Linked DNA regions of Homo sapiens: regions 1 and 2 are each linked to region 3. The links are contacts of gene promoters, found by promoter capture Hi-C in blood cells and fetal thymus (Javierre and others, 2016). All regions are on one chromosome and are shown on one strand. Each heading gives the region's core, a stretch centred on a gene start or on the middle of the fragment in contact. The rest is flanking DNA. Distances are from core to core; before and after follow the strand shown.

Region 1 (4,573 bases), core at 697-3,196, 230 kb before region 3:
CCTGGTTAAAAAAAAAAAAAGTATCTCCCCTCCAAACTGAGTCATTGTCTTCTACCTCTCTCAGAGTTCTGTTCCTATGCAGTTTTATGCTATAGTTATGTACGACTTACGAACTTCTATGGTTTAAACTGTGAGCTCCCTGAGGATAGGGGCATGCAGCTCCCCAATCCTGGCCCCAGGTCCTGCCAATGGAAAGACCTTCACAAAAGTTTTTTGAATGAGTCCTGTATGGCTTTCTCTTAAAGCTAAAAACGAGACCCCAGCTGGACTTCCACTTGACTCTACTAGACTGTGATCGGAATGGAAAATGAAATGACATCAGTTTGGTCCAGAATCCCTGCCAGGGCTTACGGTTACAAAAACTACTGGCAACACTCTTTACAGGGCACTCTCAAAGGACTTTCTTTGGCCTCTGAATGTACTGGAGCTTTTGAAATGGATGCAAGCCCTTCCACGCCTGCTGGGTTCCCCTTTATAATCCACTGCAACCATTAATACGAAAAAAAGACGCTTATACGCTACTACTTTAGACACTTTCTTATTCAGAGCTAGGAACGGCCCCAGGAGGTGAGGCCTCCAACCCCTCAGGCAGGAGAGAAATAATAACCTTTTCATACTCTTTGCCCAGACTTGAGGAAGCCCAGGGTGTGAGTACCACAAATCGTAGCCAGCTGCGAGATTCCAGGCCAGCTCAGAATAAGAAACCTACTGCAGAGGGGGCTTTCGCAGAAAAAAGCCCAAGTGCACGAAAGATACCACACTCATCCCCATGGAGATTTCAGGTCCAGCTGAGGCCCCGTATCCCAGTGAGAGTCTCCAGTGGTCCTTGAAGTTGTTCCCACAGTTTATCTAGATCTCATGCTGCCCAAATCACATAATCCTTCATGCCTAGGGGGTTGTTTTCTCTTCTTTCTGAGAAAAAGGCACAGGCTAAGTGATTCTGAGGAGAGAAAGCTTCAACTTGCAAGGTTCACCAACCTCACTCTCTACTCCCAGTGTCTCTCTTGCCACTGAAAGTAATGTCAAGAACCGCAATTACTTTTGCACCAACCTAATATTTATACTTGTTATCCCAGCAGGAAAATACAGCATCCTTTCAGTAATGGACATCGGCTGATTTGCCTGCCCTACATCCACCACTTGTCATTCTGAGGCTGTCAGTCATAGCCCCCTAAGCCACTCCCCTTGGTGATGGCAAGGGTCCCAGATCAGGCCAATCATAATCCACAATGCCCCTGGTGGCTAGTCCGAGAAGAGAGCATGTTACTCAAGATGGGCTGCCCAGAGCTCTTCCCTGGAACTAATGCACAGACATCACATGAAAGCAGGCACTTTCCTTCTGCGAGGGGTCACTGAGCTAGGAGGATGGGAATCCGGGCCTGAAAGCAAGGACCTGCCTGCAGAGAGAAGCCAAACAAAGAAAAAAGAAGAGAGATGAGAAATGGGAAGACATATATACATCTCACTGCCAAGGTTCTGTATCCTGTAGTTCTTCCCTTGATCTTGGAAGCTATTCCACTGTCCATTTCCTCTTTTGCTTAAAGTAGTTGACACTATGTTTTTGTAGCTCACAACAAAAGGAGTCACGAATAATATTCTCCTTGAAGTTCTTTCTAACTGGGATAGACCCTTGAAGAAATACACCCCCCTCTTAATCATTTCAAGGTAAAAGACAAGTGAAAAGAAAGAAGAATGTATAAAACTACAGACTCTTACATAACCGCTGTAGGGTATGGCTATATCTAGCTGAGGGAATCTGTCCTGAATAATAAAGTAAGTAATAACCCAACAACAGGGACAACTAATATTCTGAGGCATTGCTGGCCATGCCCATGGAGAACTTGCCCCTATCCCCCTGGTCAAATTGGATGATGAGAAGTGGACAAAACTTTGATTAAAATGAGTCAAATAGAAAGAGCTGATCCAAAACATCACACAGAACTGAAGTACGAGGCTGCCATCTTGGGGTGTTGCAACAGACCAAATGAAAGTAAAGTGGTCTGAGAACTACCAAGAGAGAAGAAAAAAAAACAGGCACTTCCTTCTTCTTAACAACTCTCCCAAATGAAACACATCATTTGTTTACTGATCTAGTGTAGCCGAACGAAGAAACTACTATTTTAACAGTTGGCACCTATGTATTTATTTTATTTGTTTGGGTATTTTTTTTTTAGAAGAACTCATCTTTATTAAGAAACAACTTTGCTAGATTGCTTTGAGTGAAGAAGGTGAGATCCCAAACCTGCCTTGTAAGGGAGAAAAGAAATAAACAGAACAGTAAACTTAGCTGCAAAAGAAGTCATCCAGAATATTGGAGGTTGGCAAGGGATGTGAGATGGGACCAGACTCTTGGCAGGAAGCAGGAGCCTGCAGACTGGAGTGCTGGTGAGAGGTTCTTTGTGGTGGAATGGTCAAGGAAATTTAAAGAACAGAGCCTCAAATCTATACTTTAAAGATTTTTGTATTTAAGACTCATAAACATCTTTTATATCTTCCATCTTCAATAAAGTCTGACAATACACGTCCATGGGCAAAAAAGAAGGAAACAGGATGAGTACCCTGTCTGGTATGCATGAATGTGAGCAAATAATACACGGTGGGAGATGAGATGGGAATGAGCTCATCAGCAAGAGAAACCTGGTCCTAGAAATAAGATCACCACCACCCCCAATCAGCTTTTCACATTTTAGGAAGAACATTAACTTTTTCACAAAATGTGGGTTAGAAGTCATTTTAAACTTTAGGTTTAAAGACAATTCATTTTAAACTTTAGGTTTCCAAAACCCTTTGCCCATGTCTCTGACGTGAATACTAGACTGTATTTTCACATACCTTGTGGACTCACTAACTTGAGCTCTTTGAGGACAGGGGCATGTCTTACCCATACTAGTGCCTAGAACAATGTCTGGCGTGCATTTTTTAATTAATTATAAGCTTTATATTTCAGAGTGGCTTAAGATTTACAGAAAAAATTGCAAAGACAGTATAGAAAGTTCCCCTAAACCTCACACCAGGTATCCCCTATTATAAACATTTTCCATTAGCATTGTACATTTGACATAATTAACGAATCAATATTCAAGCATTATTATTAACCAAAGCCCACACTTTATTCAGATTACCTTAGTTTTCATCCAATGTTCTTTCAGTATTTCAGGATCCCACCCAAACATGTCTCTCCATGCTCTTCTTTGCTATGACAGTTTCACAGAATTTCCTTGTTTTTTAAGACTTAGACAGTTTTTAAGTTGCGGTCAAGTATTTTGTACAATGTGAAACAATTGGAATTTGTCTGATCTTTTTCTCATGATTAAACCAAGGTTGCAGAGAAGAAGACCACAGAGGTAAAGTGACATTCTCATCACATCATATCAAAGGTGCATGCTATCAACATAATTTGTCACTGTTAATTTTGACCTTAATCTTCCAACTGAGGACGTGTTTGCCAGGTTTGTCAATGCAAAGTTACACTCCCCTTCCTCTCCTTTCCAGACTTCACTCTTTTGAAGAAGTCACAATGCACAGCCCACACTAAAGAAATGGGAGCCATGCTCCAACCCCTTGGAGCAAAGAGTATCTACATAAATTACTTGCATTTCTTCTGCATAGGATATTTGTGTATCCCCCCCATCTATTTGTTTATTTAATCATTTATTTACATCAGTATGAATGCATGGATATTGATTTCATACCTTGGGCTATAATCCAATACTACTCTATTTTATAGAGCACATTGTCCCCAGTTGGCCATTGGGAGCTCTTGCAGTTGTCTTCTATGTCTCTTTGACACACCCAATTGTTGTGGAGTTTTTTGTTTTGTTTTGCTTTGTTTTGAGGGGGAGAGTTTTGGGGTGGGGATTGTTTTTGTGGGATTTTTATTTATTTCAGTCGGTTTTTGGGGAACAAGTGGTGTCTGGTTACATGGATAAGTTATTTAGTGATTATTTCCAATTTTCTGAAAAAGGGATTGTACCCGAAATATACAGGGGATTCTTAGAACTCAGCAATAAGAGAATAAAAAACCCAATTTATAAATGGGCAAGAGATCTGAACGATTACCTCACTAAAGAAGATATTTCCGAGATTTTGGTGTACCCATCACCCGAGCAGTGTATGCTGTACCCAGTGTGCAGTCTTTTATCCATCACGCACTCCCACCCAAAACGTCTGCATGGTAAAAGAAATAAAAAGCAGAGTAAACAGATAACCCACAGACTGGGAGAAAATATTCTCAAACTATGCATCTGAGAAAGGACTAATATCCAGAATCTACAAGGAACTCAAACAAATCAGCAAGAAAATTATAAATAATCCTATCAAAAAGTGGGCTAAGGACATGAATAGAAAATTCTCAAAGCAAGATACACAAATGGCCAATAAACATATAAAAAAAGCCCAACATCACTAATTATCATGGAAATGCAAATCAAAACCACAGTGCAATACCACTTTACTCCTGCAAGAACGGCCATAATTTTAAAATCAAAAAATAGTAGATATTGGTGTGGATGTGGTGAAAGGGAACACTTTTACAATGCTGGTGAGAATGTAAACTACTACACCCATTATGGAA
Region 2 (4,250 bases), core at 514-3,013, 210 kb before region 3:
AGAACAGGATGTATAAAGACTTTATTAAATGCTACATTTTCTAATGCTGCTTTAAATTTATTTGTGTTGAAGTAAATGAAGATCATTCTAATAAAAAATGATATTTTTACAGTTGGAAGTATTTTTTTCTTTTTAAGAACCTTAGTTGTTTTTATTCCTCATAATGATTCTTATGAACATATCTTACTAATTGTTCAATAGTGTTTCCTATCAGAGCTATTTGGGATATATTCCTTGAATGATTACGATTTGAAGCACAACAGAAAATTCATAAGAGTTTCTCTTCTGCAAAACATGTTTTCTAAAAACATAATAAAACACTGGTGAAAATCCTATAACCATGTATACAAAAAAGATAGGAGGGAAGATAAGTATAGTGGATGTGAAAAAGTGAGATAAATCCCCATCTTTCACCCTATACAAAAGTCAACTCCAAATGGATTAAGGACTTAGAGGTAAGACCTGATACTATGAAACTACTAGAAAAAAAAAAAAAAAAACTTTGATCTGGGGAAAGATTTTTGGGGGTTAGACTTCAAAAGCATCAGTAACAAAAGCGAAAACAGACAAATGTGATTGTATCAAGCCAAAAACTTCTGCACAGCAAAGAGAACAATTAATGAAGTGAAAAGACCACCTACAGCATGGGAGAAAATATTTGCAAACTATCCATCTGTCTCAGTTTGTGTTGCTTTAAAGGAATACCTGAGACTAGGTGACTTATAAAGAAAAGAGGTTTATTTAGCTCACTGTTCTGCAGGCTGTACAAGAATCCTGGCACCAGCTTCTGCTTCTGGTGAGGGCTTCAGGCTGCTTCCACTCATGGTGGAAGGTGAAGGAGAGCAGGTGTGTACACAGACCACACGGTGTGACAGCAGGGAAGAGAGAGGGGTGAAAGGTACCACCAGACTCTAAACAATCAGCTCTTTGGAACTAATAGAGGGATAACTCGCTCATTACCACAAGGATGGCACCAAGTCATTCATGAGGGATCTGCCCCCATGACCCAAACACCTCCCATTAGGCCCCACCTCCATTGTTGGGGATCAAATTTCAATAGAAGGTTTGGAAGGTCAGATATCCGAACTATAGCACCATCCGATAAGGAATTAACAACCAGAATATATAAGGAACTCAAACAACTCAAGAGCAATAAAACAAACAACAGCAAATAATCTGATCTTAAAACGGACACAGGCACAGAGGCACATGCCTATAGTCCCAACTACTCAGGTGGCTGAGGCAAGAGGATTGAGCCCAGGAGTTTGAAGCTGGCCTGGGCAACACCCCAGTTGACCCCATTCCTAGTTTTTTTTAATGGGCAAAAAACCTGAACAGCCAGTTCTCAAAAGAAAATATACAAATGGCCGAAAGTTAAGCAAAAAAAAAAAAAAACTCAACATCACTAATCTTCAGGGAAATGCAAATCAAAACCACAATGAGATATCATCTCACTCCAGTTAGATTGATTATTATCAAGAAGATACAAAATAATAAATCCCGGAGGGCACAGTGGCTCACACCTGTAATCCCAGCACTTGGGGAGGCTGAGGCAGGCTGATCACTTGAGGTCAGGAGTTCCACACCAGCCTGCCCAATATGGCGAAACCCTATCTCTAGTAAAAATACAAAAATTAGCTGGGCATGATGGCACACACCTGTAATCCCAGCTACTCAGGAGGCTGAGGCATGAGAATCGCTTGAACCCAGGAGGTGGAGGTTGCAGTGAGCCAAGACCATGCCATTGCACTCCAGCCTGGGTGACAGAACGAGACTCCATCTCAAAAATAAAATAAATAAAATAAAATAAAACAAATCCTGGAAAGAATGCAGAGAAAGGGGAATTCTTGTATACTGTTGTAGAAATGCAAAGTAGTACAGCCATACGAAAAATATTATGGAGATCCTCAAAAAACTAAAAATAGAACTGCCATATGATCCAAAAATACCGCCGCTGGGTATATATCCAAAAGAAAGGAAATCATTATATTGAAGATATACTGCACTCCCATGTTTATTAGAGCACTATTCACAACAGTCAAGATACGGACTCTACCTAAGTGTGCATCAATGGATAAAGAATATGTAGTTTGTATACACAATGGAATATTATTCAGCAATAAAAAGAGTGAAGCCCTGTCATTTGCAGAAACATGGATGGAACTGGAGGTCATTATGTTAAGTGAAATAAGCCAGGCACACAAAAACAAATATCACATGTTCTCATGCCTATGTGGTAGCTAAAAAAAAATAGATCTCATGGCGGTAGAGAGTAGAATAGTGCTTACCAGAGGCTGGGGAGGGAAGGAGGAAAAGGGGGAAAGAGAAGTTGGTTAATGGGTACAAAAATACAGTTACATGGAAGAATAAGTTTTAGTATTTGATAGTTCAGTAGGGAAATTATAGTTAACAATAATTTATTGTAGATTTAAAAGTAGCTAGAAGAGAAAGAATTGTAACGTTCCCAACACAGGGGAAAGAAAAATGTTTGAGGTGATAGGTAACCCAATTGCCATGATTTGATCACTACACATTGTATATAGGTATCAAAACATCACGTGTACCCCCCAAGTACGAACTATGATATGTCAATTTTTTTAAAGTTATGAAACATTTTTAAAGGGAAGTATAGAATAAAAGGGAAAATGAGGAAGAGAAGACTGAAGTAATCAGAAGAGAAAAGAAAGGGGAAAAGGAAAGAAAAGAAAAGAAAGGAAAGATGGAAAAAAAGAAGGTTCTTGCTTTGGCTTTCGGTGTAATCCTGCCCTTTGCCATGCTTATGTCACACACTCACACCATACACACACACATACATCATATACACACCACACACCACACACACCACACACACATACCACACACACTGCACACACACCATACCACACACACATCATACACACACCATACAACACACACACACACATCATACACACACACATCACACACACACCACACACACCCCACACCACATACACAAACCACACATGCCACACCGCACACTCACACACCACACACACCATGCACACGCCACACACACCCCACACACCACATACACATCATACACTCACACCACACACATCATACGCATATGCCACACACCACACACACACCATGCACAGCACACACACACATCATACACACACCACACACACCACACCACACACACACCACACACCACAGCACACACACACCACACAACACACATCGTACACACACACCACACATTCACACACCACACACAATCACATACCCACACACAAACACTATGAACCACAGCACACACACCACGAATCACACAGCACACACACCACACCATACACACAGCACACACACCACGCCACACACCCCACACACCACATCACACACACCACACACACACATCACACACACAAACCACATTCATACACCTCACACACCACACACTACTTCTTTACAGTTGTCTCAGCCCCACACATCTGGCACATGATGTAGAAGTTGGCAACATTTTGATGATCCGAGATATTCCTTTCAAGAATACAAACGAAGGCCATAAACACATCAATTATTTTCAATTGTTTTAAAATTAAAATATAAAAGATTCTCAGAATGAAACCATTTACCAAAACAAGTTTTATGAAAGATGAATACTTAAGTTGCTTTCTATATTTGGTAATCTGCTGTACTTCTTTCTGAGTTTTTCTTAACAAAGAAAATATACTTATTGTGCGAATGGATGGTACACAGTTAGAATAGAAATTATAAATCGTTAAACAGCATAACCCCAGCCAGAATTTGTTTTCCATCCCCCCTCCTGTATACCCACCCACCCTCTGACCCCTTGGAAATGTGGCTTAGACATAAGAATTTTATCGTTGGGGAATATGTTGGTGGTTGACAAAGAAAACAGCATAAAATATTTTAAATTAGGACGGTCACATACGCACATATGTAAGCATCTGAATGCGTGCATACACACACCAGCCCCAGGTACATGGAAACCATACCCACAACCCTCTCATCTACCGATATATAAAAGGAAATTCTGAAATTTGAATTACAGCTTCCACCTTCTCAGTGGAACCTTATTATATTACTGGATGAGCTGTCAAACAGTCTGATAACGCTGTTTAAAATTCACAATTGGGCATATGTTTCCATTTAATCTGAGAAACAGCAAGGCCCACTCTAGCGGGTGATATGCTGTTTATCTGCTGCTTCCGCCGCGGTTGTCAGTGTTTCTGAAATGCCAGTGCTACCGGCAAAGCACTCTG
Region 3 (4,772 bases), core at 699-3,198:
AAAAAAAAAAAAAAAAAAAAATTCTGTCTCTATGCCAGACACTATAGTAGGTAGTGGAGATACACCAATCAATCAAGCAGGTCTCTGCACTCACGGAGCTTTCATTATAGCAACATGCAAGATAATTTCAGATGAGCTAAGTGCTGTGAAGAGATTGAAGAATTTCAAGGGGATGCAGGAGACTTTAAGTGAAAGTGTTGGGGAAAGCCAAGCTCTTACTTCCTCTTCTGTAGTGACCTTGGCAGCCAAGAGTTGAACATGATGGCATAACAAATGGGGGAAGCCTGGGTCCCTGAGTGATTATGTGGAGCACAGCACTCTTCCCCTTCCCTGCAGACTGAATTGGACTGTGATCGGAGTGAGAAATAAAATACTGCACACCTGTGAGTAATTGTGACAGCAAACTGATCTTTCTGAGATGCATCCACTGCCTGGACATATTATTGGGGGAAGACAATACTAAACAAACACTGATATACAAACTCACATTGAAGTTAATTTCTTTCTCCAGTCATTTCTGTCTTAGATCTCTTGGTCAGACCTTTATAAAATCAACTCACTAAATTATGATGGAAGCTAAGGAAGCAATTATAGAGTTTGTAATTTTCCTTTAAAACACGCCTGATTATATTTTAAAAGAGTCCTCGGTGGCACAAGAATACTAACATTTAAATTCACCATTTCTCATGTTTATCCACACACTCTAAATCTGGGTATCCCTCAGAGGATCCTGTAATTCCCCAAAGGAAGTCTGTCTTCTTTACTGCATCCTCAGTGGGTCTTTTCTTCCTTAGCTGCTGGCCTCAAGAGCATATAGCTGGTCTCTCAGCCCCCTGAATACCCTTCCTCTTCTCTTCTAATTTTTATGTATCCTAAGCAGCCACTGCAAAGCTGTTCTTTAAGACTGCTTAGCACAAGAAGTCTCCTGTGACTTATGCCTGCCTAATAGGTGAGGACAAGACAGGCAGGAAAGCCAGAGCATCCTATGAGAGAGGCCAGTGCCAGGGACTGGCACTTCTTGATTTCTTCACCTGGGCTTCATTAATTTTTATATCCTAGGACTTGAGCTTTGTCCTTGTGACTGTGTGTGCTTAGTGAAAACTGAGCAGTAAATCAGGCAATTGATATGAACCTCTCTGAGTCTGCCTTTGGTACCAGATCTATCGGCAAGAGCACCACATGAAGTCAAAACTTCCATCCTCCAAGACACTAAAATGAAATCCTCCCCAGCCAGGGGTCCATTCCAGGATGCATGTCCATACACGTGTACAGTCTGCAACCATCCACAGAACCACACTCATGATGAGGAGACAAAAGATGGGCCTCAAAAGGAGACCTCTGAGTGAGGATGCCAACTTTCCTTTCTGCATTCCTTGGTTCCTTCAGCAACAAAGATTAGTCTTGGCATCACTGCCTGCTTGGCGACCAGAACAAAGAGAAATAAGGAAAATTAGGGACACAGGAAAACCTATGGGCACACATAGATATGGAAACTCAGAGATAATAGAAACTTAAAGAGATACATGGAGAGTGAATATTCTGCCTCCCTATAGAGCCTTTTCCATCATCCATCCACCCAAGCAATGCTGACCTGAGTGCCTATTTATCAGGCACTGGTCTTGGCCTTGGGGATAAACAAAGATGGAGGTGAAAGTCTAAAAGCAGACACTGGAGGTGGGAAGAGCAGTTGACGTGGCCCTAACAGGGTTCCCACCACGGCGGAACGCACAGACAGGGGACGTGGGGGAAGACGTGACCCTAAAAGGGTTCCCGCCACGGCGGAACGCACAGCCAGAGAACGTGGGGGAATTCATGAAGCGAACCTCCTGCTACCTCAACGCCGGTGAAGGTGAAGGAGACACCTGCGCGTCATAGAGACTCCGAGACCTCCAGGCTTCCTAGAGAGGCCCGGAAGTGGCTCCAGGAGGCAGGTCCGACGGCTTCGGCGCCCCAGCTGTGGTGATGGGTAGCTAGGAGGCCTGGGCCTCTCTGCCTGCTGTAGCCGTCTGCCGCGCCCTTGTTCCTGCAGCTGTGAGTGGGCCTGGGCTGGGGTTGGGGGGCCGCCGCCCTTCCGCGGGGACCCTGGACCGCCTCGGCCTGGAACGCGACAGGTGGCGGTCCCGGGGGTGGGGGACGGTGGTGAATGACTGAGCAGGGTGGCGGGAAGGAGTATCCCCTTTCAGATGTCTTCCTGATCCCAGGGGACCGGGCGCAGCTTGGCTTTCTAGAATGTCGCCAAGGCCTCAAACACTGGCCCTCCGCATTTTTTGTTTTTAAGGACATCGGGGCCCCAAGCTCCGAACTTTCCACAGGTGGCTGGCTATACTTGATTCCTGTCTTTGATTTTCTGCACACTTTGGGAGAACGATTACCTCCTCTTTATCACTTGGTTCTGGTTTGCCACTTAAAAGTGGCAGTGACAGGTTCCCATTTAAACTGCATGTATTTGTTGGGAAAAGGTAAGTAGGTTTAAACAAAACCTTATAGGCTAGTCATAATACCAGATGAATCAGATGTGACAGAAATTGTGGAGGTGGAGTGAGCCCTGAAAATCTGAGACGGGTCTCAGTTCATTTAGAAAGTTTATTTTGCCAAGGTTGAAGACATGTACCCATGACACAGCCTCAGGCGGTCCTGACGATGTATTCTTAATGTGGTCAGAGCCCAGTTTCGTTTTCTACATTTTAGGGAGACATGAGACAAGAACAGATGTAAGATGAACATGTTTTTCGGTCTGGAAAGGCGGGACAACTCGAAACGGGGAGGGGGCTTCCAGGTCATAGGTAGGTAAGAGACAAATGGTTGCATTATTTTGAGTTTGATTAGCCTCTCCAAAGGAAGCAATCAGATATGCCTTTATTTTAGTGAGCAGAGATACATGAATAGAATGGGAGGCAGGTTTGCCCTAAGCAGTTCTCAGCTTGACTTTTCCCTTTAGCTTAGTGATCTTGGGACCCCAAGATTTATTTTCCTTTCACAGTGATAAGATAATGACCTAAGCGAATCTGTATTGTCCCAGCCTTATTGTGCGGCATTACATGTAGTGGTTAAGAGTCATACAGACCCGGCTTCAAGTCCTGAACCCTGCCCAACCCCTTATGACCTGCATAATTTGTGGGCAAGGTTCCTAACCTCTGATCTATTTTCCTCATTTCTGAAAGCTGATGATAATACTAGTAACAACTTCGGAAGATTGTCCTGAGGCTTAAATGCTAAACCTTTAAACTACCTGTATTAATCCATTCTCATGCTGCTAATAAAAACATACCCAAGACTGGGTAATTTATAAAGTTAAGAGGTTTGATGGACTCACAGTTCCACATGGCTGGGGAAGCCTCATAATCATGCCAGAAGGCAAAAGAGGAGCAAAGTCACATCTTACGTCTTATATGGTGGCAGGCAAGAGAGCTTGTGTAGGGGAACTCCCCTTTATAAAACCATCAGATCTTTTGAGACTTATTCACTATCAAGAGAACGGCATGGGAAAAACCCACCCCTGTGATTCAGTTACCTCCCACTGGGTCCCTCCCAGGACACGTGGTAATTATGGGATCTACAATTCAAGGTGAGATTTGGGTGGAGACACAGCCAAACCATATCATTCCGCCCCTGGCCCCTCCCAAATCTCATGCCCTCACATTTCAAAACCAATCATGCCTTCCCAACAGTCCCACAAAGTCTTAACTCATTTTAGCATTAACTCAAAAGTCCACACTCCAAAGTCTCATCTGAGGCAAGGCAAGCCCCTTCCACCTATAAGCCTGTAAAATCAAAAGCAAGTTAGTTACTTCCTAGATACAATGGGGGTACAGGTATTGGGTAAGTATACTCATTCCAAAAAGGAGAAATTGGCCACAACGAAGGGGCTACAGGCCCCATGCAAGTCTAAAATCCAGCGGGGCAGTCACATCTTGAAACTCCAAAATGACCTCCTTTGACTCCGTGTCCCATATCCAGGTCATACTGATGCAAGAGGTGGTTTCCCATAGTCTTGGGCAGCTCCACCCTTGTGGTTTTGCAGGGTACAGCCCCACTTTTGGCTGCTTCCAGGGCTGGCGTTTAGTGTCTGCTGCTTTTCTAGGTGTACGGTGCAAGCTGTTGGTGGATCTACCATTCTGGGGTCTGGAGGATGGTAGCTCTCTTCTCACAGCTCCACTAGGCAGTGTCCCAGTGGGGACGCTGTGGGGTGGTTCCAACCCCACATTTCCCTTCCATGCTGCTCTAGCAGTGGTTCTCCATGAGGGCCCCACCCCTGCAGCCAACTTCTGCCTGGACATCCAGGAGTTTCCATACATCCTCTGAAACCTAGGGAGAGGTTTCCAAACCTCAGTTCTTGACTTCTGTGTACCCACAGGCTTAACACCGCATGGAAGTTTCCAAGGCTTGGGGCTTGCACCCTCTGAAGCCCCAGTTTGAGCTGTACCTTGGCCCGTTTTAGCCACAGCTGGAGCAGCTGGGACGCAGAGCACCAAGTCCCTAGGCTGCATAGAGCAGGGGGACCCTGGACCCAGCCCAGGAAACCATTTTTGCCTCCTAGACTTCTGGGCCTTTGGTAGGAGGGGCTGCCAAGAAGGTCTCTGACATGCCCTGGAGACATTTTCCCCATTGTCTTGATGATTAGCATTTGGCTCCTTGTTACTTATGCAAATTTCTGCAGCCAGCTTGAATTTCTCCCCAGAAAATGGGTTTTTCTTTTCTTTTGTATCATTAGGCTGCAAATTTTTCAAACCTACACTCTGCTTCCTCTTGAATGCTTTGCAGCTTAGAAATTT

What was found. The method cuts DNA at HindIII sites, captures the fragments that hold promoters and counts their contacts. A CHiCAGO score of 5 or more calls a contact.
Region 1: a contact is called between a fragment that was not itself captured here and the fragment with the promoter of SDR42E1 in region 3, in 3 of 17 cell types (monocytes, M2 macrophages and M1 macrophages). The highest score is 6.7, in monocytes.
Region 2: a contact is called between a fragment that was not itself captured here and the fragment with the promoter of SDR42E1 in region 3, in 2 of 17 cell types (M2 macrophages and M1 macrophages). The highest score is 5.5, in M2 macrophages.

What each region holds. Positions count from the first base shown.
Region 1 is chr16:82,238,316-82,242,888 of GRCh38, reverse strand. No RefSeq gene overlaps it. Among named protein-coding and RNA genes, the nearest start is that of MPHOSPH6, 70 kb to the right of the region's middle. The HindIII fragment of the contact is 1,980 bases long and covers 957-2,936 here.
Region 2 is chr16:82,219,523-82,223,772 of GRCh38, reverse strand. No RefSeq gene overlaps it. Among named protein-coding and RNA genes, the nearest start is that of MPHOSPH6, 51 kb to the right of the region's middle. The HindIII fragment of the contact is 6,919 bases long and covers 1-4,250 here.
Region 3 is chr16:82,008,646-82,013,417 of GRCh38, reverse strand. It overlaps SDR42E1 (short chain dehydrogenase/reductase family 42E, member 1), which reads left to right and starts at 1,948. Exons shown (of 3, transcript NM_145168.3): 1 at 1,948-2,031. RefSeq lists enhancers at 1,604-1,683, 1,694-1,783 and a silencer at 2,024-2,173. The HindIII fragment of the contact is 9,437 bases long and covers 1-4,772 here.